Regions from separate parts of the Homo sapiens genome. Here regions 1 and 3 are each linked to region 2. The links are contacts of gene promoters, found by promoter capture Hi-C in human tissues and cell types (Jung and others, 2019). All regions are on one chromosome and are shown on one strand. Each heading gives the region's core, a stretch centred on a gene start or on the middle of the fragment in contact. The rest is flanking DNA. Distances are from core to core; before and after follow the strand shown.

What was found. The method cuts DNA at HindIII sites, captures the fragments that hold promoters and counts their contacts. A contact is called where the count stands out against the background at its distance.
Region 1: a contact is called between a fragment that was not itself captured here and the fragment with the promoter of CBLN1 in region 2, in 2 of the 25 tissues and cell types used here (dorsolateral prefrontal cortex and mesenchymal stem cells).
Region 3: a fragment that was not itself captured here is called in contact with the fragment with the promoter of CBLN1 in region 2 in 1 of the 25 tissues and cell types used here (H1 embryonic stem cells).

What each region holds. Positions count from the first base shown.
Region 1 is chr16:48,668,709-48,671,802 of GRCh38, forward strand. The region is part of intron 1 of LOC105371240 (a long non-coding RNA gene); the gene reads left to right. Among named protein-coding and RNA genes, the nearest start is that of N4BP1, 60 kb to the left of the region's middle. The HindIII fragment of the contact is 5,921 bases long and covers 1-3,094 here.
Region 2 is chr16:49,280,533-49,283,444 of GRCh38, forward strand. CBLN1 (cerebellin 1 precursor) reads right to left here and starts at 1,306. Exons shown (of 3, transcript NM_004352.4): 1 at 670-1,306; 2 at 391-510. The coding sequence starts at 933. SYNAGE (synapse stability regulating cerebellar lncRNA) reads left to right here and starts at 1,530. Exons shown (of 4, transcript XR_933530.4): 1 at 1,530-1,700. RefSeq lists an enhancer at 410-1,027 and silencers at 1,380-1,489, 1,860-1,959. The HindIII fragment of the contact is 18,550 bases long and covers 1-2,912 here.
Region 3 is chr16:48,688,523-48,691,617 of GRCh38, forward strand. All of the region lies in intron 1 of LOC105371240 (a long non-coding RNA gene), which reads left to right. Among named protein-coding and RNA genes, the nearest start is that of N4BP1, 80 kb to the left of the region's middle. The HindIII fragment of the contact is 7,279 bases long and covers 1-3,095 here.

The DNA.
Region 1 (3,094 bases), core at 177-2,676, 610 kb before region 2:
CCTATCTTCTGCATAGACCTTGCTGGGAGCTGCAGACCAGAGCTCTTCCTATTCAGCCATCTTGGAAGTGACCCCTTTAATATTTTTTTGTAGTATAGATATGCTAGTGATGAATTATCTTAGCTTTTGCTTTTCTGTAAATATTTTTGTTTGCCTTCTTTTTTTTTTCTTTAGATGGAATCTTGCTCTGTCACCTAGGCTGGAATGCAGTGGCACGATGTTGGTTCAGTACAACCTCTGCCTCCTGAGTTCAAGCGATTCTCCTGCCTCAGACTCCTGAGTAGCTAGGATTACACATGCCTGCCACCACACTCAGCTAATTTTTGTATTTTTTAGTAGAGACGGGGGTTTCACCATGTTGGCCAGGCTGGTCTCGAATGCCTGACCTCAAGTGATCTGTCCGCCTTGGCCTCCAAGGTGCTGGGATTACAGGTGTGAGCCACCACGCTGGGCCTGCCTTCATTTTTGAGATATATTTTTATTGTATATAGAATCCTAAGTTGACAGTTATTTTTTTCTGTTAGTATTTTAAAGATGTTGTCTCCTTTCTGGATTTCTGATGAGAGGTCTGAAATCATTTTCATCTTTGTTCCTCTGTAAACAATGAGTTATTTTTTTCCTCTGGCTTTCAGGAATTTGATTAAGATGTTGCTTGATGTGCTTTGCTTTATATTTATTTTGTTTGAGGTTTGTTGAACTTCTTGGATCTGTCTTTCTGATTTTCATCAAATTTGTAAAAAAAAAAGTTGGCATTATTTCTTTCAAAGTTTTCTTATGCTTCTTTATATACCTCTTTCTCTGGGACTCCAATTATTAAACTGTTTGATTTTGTTCCATAGGATATTGAGACTGTTCATTTTTATAGTTTTTTATTTTGTTTTGTGCCTTATTTTGGCTAGTTGCTACAGTTACTTCTTCAATTACATATTTTCTTTTATAATATCTAATATCTAGTTATTCCTATCCAGTGAAAGTTTCTCTTGAGCTGTTGTGTTTTTCATTTCTGATATTTCTATTTAAAACAATAACTTCCACTTTTCCTTTCGCTTGTGCTTTTCTTTTAACTAGTTAAGCATTTTGAACACATTTATAAAAGCTCTTTTAATGCCTTTGTGTGTTAATTACATAAGTTTTGTCATTTCTAGGTCTGTTTCCATTGATTAATTTTTTTCTTAAATTTTAGTTTTACATTGAAAAATATTATTTATTTATTTTTGAGATAGTGTCCTGCTCTTTCATCCAGGCTGGAGTGCAGTGGCATTATCTTGGCTTACTGCAGCCTCAGCCTCCTGGGCTATCCATTCTATGCTAGCTAGACAATCTTGGTACCTCCTTTCACAGCCATAGCAGTCATTCCAGGAGTAGATAGTGTCAATCATAGTCTTCAATAGCACTAATATACAGACATAGACAGAGATGCATGTTCTCTGGCTTGGCATGTTAAGCTGGGAGAATGTGAATCTGGGTCAATTAAAGATCATTTCCCTCTGCCTTATGGAGAAAGACTGACTGCTGTGGGAGAGAATGAAATCAACCATTGAGTGAAGAAGAGCAAATGGGTAGAGATAGAAGAATAAAATAGAAAAATAAAAATATTGGGAAATCCCTAGATCCATCTGTGCACAAAGCTAGCAAATCCCCACCTTTCTCTGAACACTTTGAACCAATTAATTTCCATTTTGCTTAGTTTAGTTTGAGCTGAGATTTTCTTACTTATATTTGAAAGAATTTGGTTCAAGACAGCCCCCTCTGTTTTTGTAATAAAGTATAGCTCCAGGGAAGCTACTCACTGACCCCAGAAGCCTTCCCTGCTTTTGGTACTTTATGCTGACATTCCTACCAGGCATACCATGCTATGCTTATCAAAATGGAATTCAGAACAAGTCTTGGTGCCATGGAAAGAACTCAAGCTCAGAGTCAGAAATATGTGGATTAAAGATTTTTTGCTGCCTATTAGCTGTGTGAGCTGTAAGGTTACTGCACATATTCTATTTCCTTCCCAATAAAGATGGGAGGAAGAGGGGAGGAAGAAGACAAGCCCATAGTACCAGTGAGAATTAGATTTAATCACACAGAACTGGAAACCTAAGAATTCTTTGATAACATAGAAGTTTGTTTCTTTGTCATGTAAATTAATTGGAGGTAACTGATCCAGACTTCACAAAGCCATCAGGCAGCCACCCCTTCTAACTTTTTTCTCCACCATCCTAACATATGACTTCTATTCTCAAAGTTCTTCCCTGCAGAATCGATGTGTTTCACCCACCCAGGTCCACAGAGAAATGGTTAGGAAAGTGGACAGGTATTTTTCTGTGTTGGAAATTTTCTTCTCAGAAGGGAGTTTTCCTGTGCTCCTATGGTTCATGCCAGTTAGCAGGATCTGCCTAAGCAGGAAGTTGGATGCTTTCTGAATTTCCAACAAATGGGAAGAGATTCAATAAAAGACTATGCGATAGTAGCAACCATGATGAGTTGTAAGTATTTTTATCAGCTGGGAAAGGTAGTGCTTTGCTTAAAATGATTAAGCTTGGATGCATCTGTGGGGATGGCAAGGAAAGGATGAATATAGGGAAGCTAAATGATTTGGGGACTCTAGGAATATGGGCAAAAGTAAAACCTAATTTCACACAGATGCCTGGCATCTCAAAGGTCCCCTTCTCCCCATCTGCCATGATTCTCCCCATCTGCCATGATTCTCCCCATTCCTCTGGCATCCTTTTTTGGCCTCTTTTTTCCCATAACTTCATCCTTCCTAGCCTCTTGTTTTTCACTCCTCTAGTCCCACCTCCCCTAATCTATCTTCGTAACAGAGCAGGAGATGTCTTCCCAAAACACAATTTTGTTACCTGCTTTTCTATTTTGGTGACTTGGAGGGTTTGTTTTGCATCATGGTGCTAGGTTTTCATCACTAGGACCAGTTTCATCAGGATCCTTAGCCCCTAGGATCCTGGAATAATGTAATTTAAGAGGTTAAGACAAAGCCTACTTGACAGTTAGCCTCTTAGGAGATTTTTATTGATACTGAACCAGTATCATGTCTTTGGAGTTAAGCCTGAACCACAGAGTCAGGGTGGTCTAAGCTGTGCTGCACTAT
Region 2 (2,912 bases), core at 56-2,555:
GGCTTCTGAGCCGGGGCAAGGGGTAGGGTGTACTGTCGCGGTGCTTCCTGGGGAGTCCGGGAAGGCTTCCCAAGCGGCAGCTGTCTGGGGCGCTAACAACAGCCGTTACAAGGAAGTCCCTGAAATCCAGGGAACCCTTCGGAGAGGCCCGGAAGGCAGAAGCAGAAAATTCTGTCTCTCGGGGGATGGGGCTGGATCCCAAGAGCCAGAGACAGGGAAAGCAGAGGACAGTTGAAGCCACAGAACTGAGAGGCCCCGCTATCTGTCCCTCCAAGCAGCCCGAAGTACATGCAGCCGCCACTTCTGCCTACCACCTCCGGACAGCCCGAGCACCCCTGAGGCCAGTAACCCCCCTACGGGGCCAGGGCCCGGCACGAGGCGTCGGCTGACCTGTATGGTTTGTCTGTTGTAGACTTTTACCACGTGGAAGTTAAAACTGTAGATCCCTTTGCGCGGGGCGATGAAAGTGCTGCGTTCTGAATCAAAGTTGTTCCCAATGTTCACTAGTACCTATAACGAGACGGGAACGAAGGGGAGTGGGCAGGAATCGGTCCCGGACTGTCGTCCCCGCGCCTCCGCAGAGCCCTTGGAGAGGACCGGGCATCGGTCTTCCATCCATCCCTCCTTCACCAGCCCAATCTGCACGCCGCGGGAGGAAGGAACACTCACCTGGTCGAAGTAGATGATCATGGTGCGATTACTCATCTCGGACGGCTCGTGGTTGGTGCTCCTGATGGCAGAGAAAGCCACCTTGGCGCTGCCAGAGCGCACAGAGATGCCCAGGGCAGTGCCCGTGGGGTCGGACGTGGGGTTGGAGTCGCACACCACCAGGCACTTGCCCTCCAGCACGATGGGCTCCGTCTCATTCTGCCCGCGGGCCGGGCCCGCCAGCCACGCAGCCCCCAGCAGCAGCAGCTCCAGGACGCCCAGCATCGCGCCGCCGGCGCCCACCCCGCCCCCCACCCCCAGGGCTGCTCGCGCCAGCCGCCCCCCCCGTCCCAGTCCCGCTCCGAAGCCCCCTCCTCAGCTCCGTGCGCAGCTCCGCCGCCGCCGCTCTGGACACTACACCTCTTCCTCGCACTCCGGGACTAGCGTCCCCTCCGCGACTAGCGTCCCCTCCGCGCTGTGTTCCCGGAGCCCCTCCCGGGCCTCAGGGGTGCCGCGGCTGCCCAGCCGCACTTGGATGCATAGCCGCTGCTGCTCGGTCCCGCTGCTGCCGCCGCCTCCTGCCCGCACCCGCCGCTGCCGCCGCCGCCGCCGCTCTGAATTATTGATGCAGCCGGCGCTGCAGCCGGAGCGGGCGGAGAGCGCGCGCCGGGCACAAAGGCGCGGACCTCGGCCTGGCCCCGCCCCCGCCGCCTCCCGGCCCGCCTCCCTCCGAGGCCCTGCCCCCGCCCCGGCCGAGGCCACGCCCCCCAGCCAATCCTGACGCGCCGCGCTCCCCACCGAGCCAATGGCGGCGCTGTCCGCGCTCGGCCACCTGACCCCGGGCGCCGTTGTTATTAGGCGCGGCGAGGCGGGTGGCGCGCGGCAGCAGGGTTGGGCTCTCGCCGTGAGTCGACGAAGGGAGCGCGGGCGCGCGCCCGCGTCCGCGCACTGAGAGTCGCCTCGGCCGCTCGCTTTCTCGACTCCCGCCTCGCGCCTCGATCCTGTTCCGCCTCCCTCGGCCCTCCTGCCCGCCCCCACTCGTCGGCCCTCAGGTAGGAGGCGGCGCGCCCCGGGGTCGGGAGTGGAATCGCTGGAGGCTGCGAGTCGCCTGCCCGCCTGTGGGCGCGCCCGTTGGGAGGGGAGCGCCCCCCAGCGGGCGCGGGCGCGAGGGCAGCCGGCGCGCTGGGCGAGCCTGGCTCAGGGTCCCGGCGGCCGGGGTGCAGGGCGCGTGCGCGCGCGGCGGGGCGGGGCCTGCGCGGCTCTGGCGGGCGCACGTGGTGCCCGGGAGCTGCTGGGCGGGCACTCACCGCGGGGACTCGGTGCGGAGCCGGGGCGCCGAGTGTCTCCGTGTCCCTCTGCCCCAGCCGGCGGCCGCGATGGTGGAGCTTGGCCTCTCGCTCTCTCCCGCCTCTCCAGCGACTGCTCTGCCGGCCGCGGAGGTCGGATCGAGCGGTCATTCATTCATTTGTTAATTCGTTCACTTATTCAGGGGAGATCATTGAACCCCTACGGAGTACCGGGTACTGGGCCGGGCGCTGAGGACGCGGGGCTGAGCAAAAGCAGCCGAGGCCCACCTTCGTGCCCCTTAAAACCCAGCGTGCGGGGCGGCAACGAGTACTGCTTTTCTGTTTTGCACTTAAAATTTACATTTTGCATCCGTACTTTTTATTTACTGTGCACCCTTACGGCATGCTTTACGCACCCGTACCTGCACCTCCTAGCCTTGAGTGTAGACACCAGATCCTGAGATGGGCGATTTTTCGAGAATAATTTTTACCCTAAGTGGATTTTCGTGCCACGCATGGACTTGGAACTACACACACGTAGTCCAAAACGTGAAAGTCAAAATGCAGCTTTGCCAAGTGGCAGGGAGAAAGGAGAGCTGAGAAGATGAGGAGAGGAAGGGCGCGCTCCAGGCTTTCCAGCCCGGGTGCGGTAGACGTAGCCCTGAAGGATGAACCCAGGCTGGTAGTAGGGCGGCGGGAGGGCGGGGGGACCTGTCAGTCAAGTCCAAAGCAGAAACGCGGCGCCGGATCCCAGTCAGAGGCCGGCTGGAACGCTTCCCACAGGCTCCTGGCGCTCCGGTCCCCACCAGGCGACCTTGATCCTGGCGTGCTCAGCGGAGCCAGCGCAGCGTCGGGAGCTGGAGAGACGCGGGGCGCCGGCTGAGCGCTCCTGCCCTCTGCCTCTGGGCTAGCCTCTGGCCCGGCCTCCCGGCCTCCCCCAGGGTACGCTCTCCCCCAAGAGCGAACACCAGCTTTGGG
Region 3 (3,095 bases), core at 238-2,737, 590 kb before region 2:
CCACTTTGGGTTCTGAATGCTTTTATGAATGCTTTGCCTTTCCCTCTTATTTTTTTTTCTTTCCCTCTTTTTCATTTTCCTTTTTGGTTTGTTTTTCTTGTTTGCCAGTTTGAGGCTCTAGACATAAGATCTTTTCAATTCACACAAATAATGTGTGTCTGGACATTAATTTGGCCTGAGACTTAAGGAACATCCTTAGAGTAGTCTAGTTAGTTTCTTTCTCCTCCTAAGAGGGAAACAGTATGTGCTCAGTATATTTTTAATCTTCTCAGTGGATGCAGCAGCCAATTGAATTCTTCAGGGATTTAGTTTCTTCTGCCCATGGGGCATTCTCCCTTTATCCTTGAGCAACAAAACTGGTTATTGAAAGAGAACCTTGGCCCAGCAGGTCCTGGGGTAAGTAAAGAGCCCCAGATAAAGAAGTTTATCCCCTGAATGACTGGCCTATATCAGGCCCCTGGGGAGTTCCCATTTAATGCCCTTGATTGGACCACCCTGACGCTCAGGAGTCTGTGATGGGGCTCTACAGATGTAATGACTGCATGGGGCTTTCTGCAGGGTTGTCTCATCCAGGTATCCCAGGATGATTCTGGTCTGTGGCCAAGCAGATGCCATCTTCATGAATTCTTGCTTTTTTGCATAGTGGGGAGAGTGGGGCAGAGGACTCCCCATTCTTCCATAGTTAATGCTTTTCCCATCTCAGAGAACAGCCTGCCTAACTGTCCTCCCTCTGAGGCCAATTTCAGGTTCAGACATTGAGGCTCTGCATCCAACTGTGTCCTTGGAGGAACACAAGATGCCAACTCTTCTTTCCTCCTGCCCCTTGCCACTAGAGTCCCAGGAGTGTCTCCATTTGTAATGAAACTCTAGGATATAAGAGTTCACAATCTTATATAGTATTATTTGATTATTTAAATTTGTTAAATATTTGTCTTTCTTTGCAGCTAATTTATATAGTGCATGCTATAAGGTAAACCTGTTTCCCTACTTCCTTGGATAGAGGTCAGAAGAAACTCATTGATGTTCCGTAGGGTATGAACCTGCTGAACACTGTAAAAATAATACAGAATTATAAGGTGCAATACAGAATAGGAAATGTGCAAAGTGCCTTCCGGGACTCCATGAATAGGCATTTAACAAGGAGTAAACTGAGGCTCACAGACATTAGGGGATTTGTCTAGGTCACACAGCTAGGTCCTCAAACGAGAAAATAGGCTGGAACAGCCTGGAGAAGAGAATTTTCAAGAGAAAGAGAATCTGATTAAAGTTCATATAACTACTAAGGAAATGGAGGGAGTGAGCATGATCCTGTTGAATGATGCTTGGAAGATCTTTTCATATATATATATTGAAATGGAGTCTTGCTCTTGTCGCCCAGGCTGGAGTGCAGTGGCACAATCTTGGCTCACTCCGACCTCTATCTCCCGGGTTCAAATGATTCTCCTGCCTCAGCCTCCCAAGTAGCTGGGATTACAGGCATGTGCCACCATGCCTGGCTATTTTTTTTTTTTTTTGTGGAGACCAGATTTCACTATGTTCCCCAGGCTGGTCTTGAACTTCTGACCCCAGGTGATCCGCCCTCCTTGGCCTCCCAATGTGCTGGGATTACAGGTGTGAACCACCACGCCTGACCCTTTTCTCATCTTTTAATATGAACTTGGCCTTCAGGTCCCAGCTCCAGTATCCTAAGCCTTCCTTTACACCCTTCTAGATGGAGCTAATCACTGCTCCTTGGTTTTCCGTGACACTGGATTCTTAAGGATCCTTCTTAGAGCATCCAACTCACTATTGTGTTATTGTCCTCTGTGTTAGTCAGGGTTCTCCAGAGAAACAGAAACAAGATGTGTGTATACAGAAAGGTTTACTTGAAAGAATTGACTCATGTGACTGTGGAAACTTGGTGAGCTTAAAATCTGATGGGTAGGCTGGAGACCCAGGGAAGCAGGGAAGAGTTTCAATTTGAGTCCAAAGGCTGTCTGCTGGCAGAATTCCTTCTTATGTAGCGGAAGTCCGTCTTTGTTCTATTCAGGACTTCAACGGAGTGGATGAAGCCCACCCACATGGCTGTCTGCTTCACTCAGAGTCCACTGATTTAAATGTTAATCTTATCCCAAACACCATCGCAGGAATATCCAGAATAATGCTTCATCAAATATCTGGGTGCTGTGGTCCAGGCAAGTTGCCACATAAAATTAACCATCACATCCCCATTCCTGGGTCTGTCTTCACTGCTAGACTGTGGGGTCCTCTGGGCCAGGGACTGTCTTTTATCTTTCTTTCCAGCACTCAGAAAGAACATACAGCAGGTACTCAATACATTCATTTTGATTTGAAAAAAAACAAACAAAATAAACAAACACCCCAAATTGCTTTCAAAAAAGTATTCCTTTTATTCCTACTGCAATTCTCTGCATTCCCCTACTCTTTAATAAGAGGAAACAGAGGCTTAAGGAAATATACCCACGATCACAAACCAGATAAGTGGCAGAGTTCTAGGCTGTGTGCTTTTTGCACTATATAGCACAATGTCCTTTGATTTGATAAAAATGTCAGAGGAGGTGGTCCGGGGTCTGGGGTATTCTGAATCAATGTCTTACAGAAACTGTTATTCAAAATCTAGCCCAACTGTGCTCAGCAACAATGAGAATTTTATTAAGACCTATCATTTGCCTATTAAAATCAATCAGTTATTTTCTGAACAGCTGCTAAATGCCTGTCCTTGACTGGAGACAGGTGATTGATGTATTTCCCTATCCCTCTATTCCTCCATTTCTCAATTCCTCCATCTTCTCCTCCCTCTCTCTCTCCAGCCAATACTTACTGAACATCTACTATGCACCAGGCCCCGGGGGAGGTGCTGGGGCCACAGCGAAGGCTAAGACCTGGTCCTGTTCTCAAGATGCTCATAGTCAGGGTGGTGGTGGGGGGAAGCAGGTGTGTCATCCACTAGCCACAAGGGCTCAACTGCAGCACCCATCTCTAGAGGCAGGGAAGCCTGTGAGCATCATAATGGCTATGATCCCAGCAGGGACTTGGGATCCAGTAGGAATGCCTGTGGGCAGTGAGAATGACCTCTGGGATTCTCAGGCATGTCA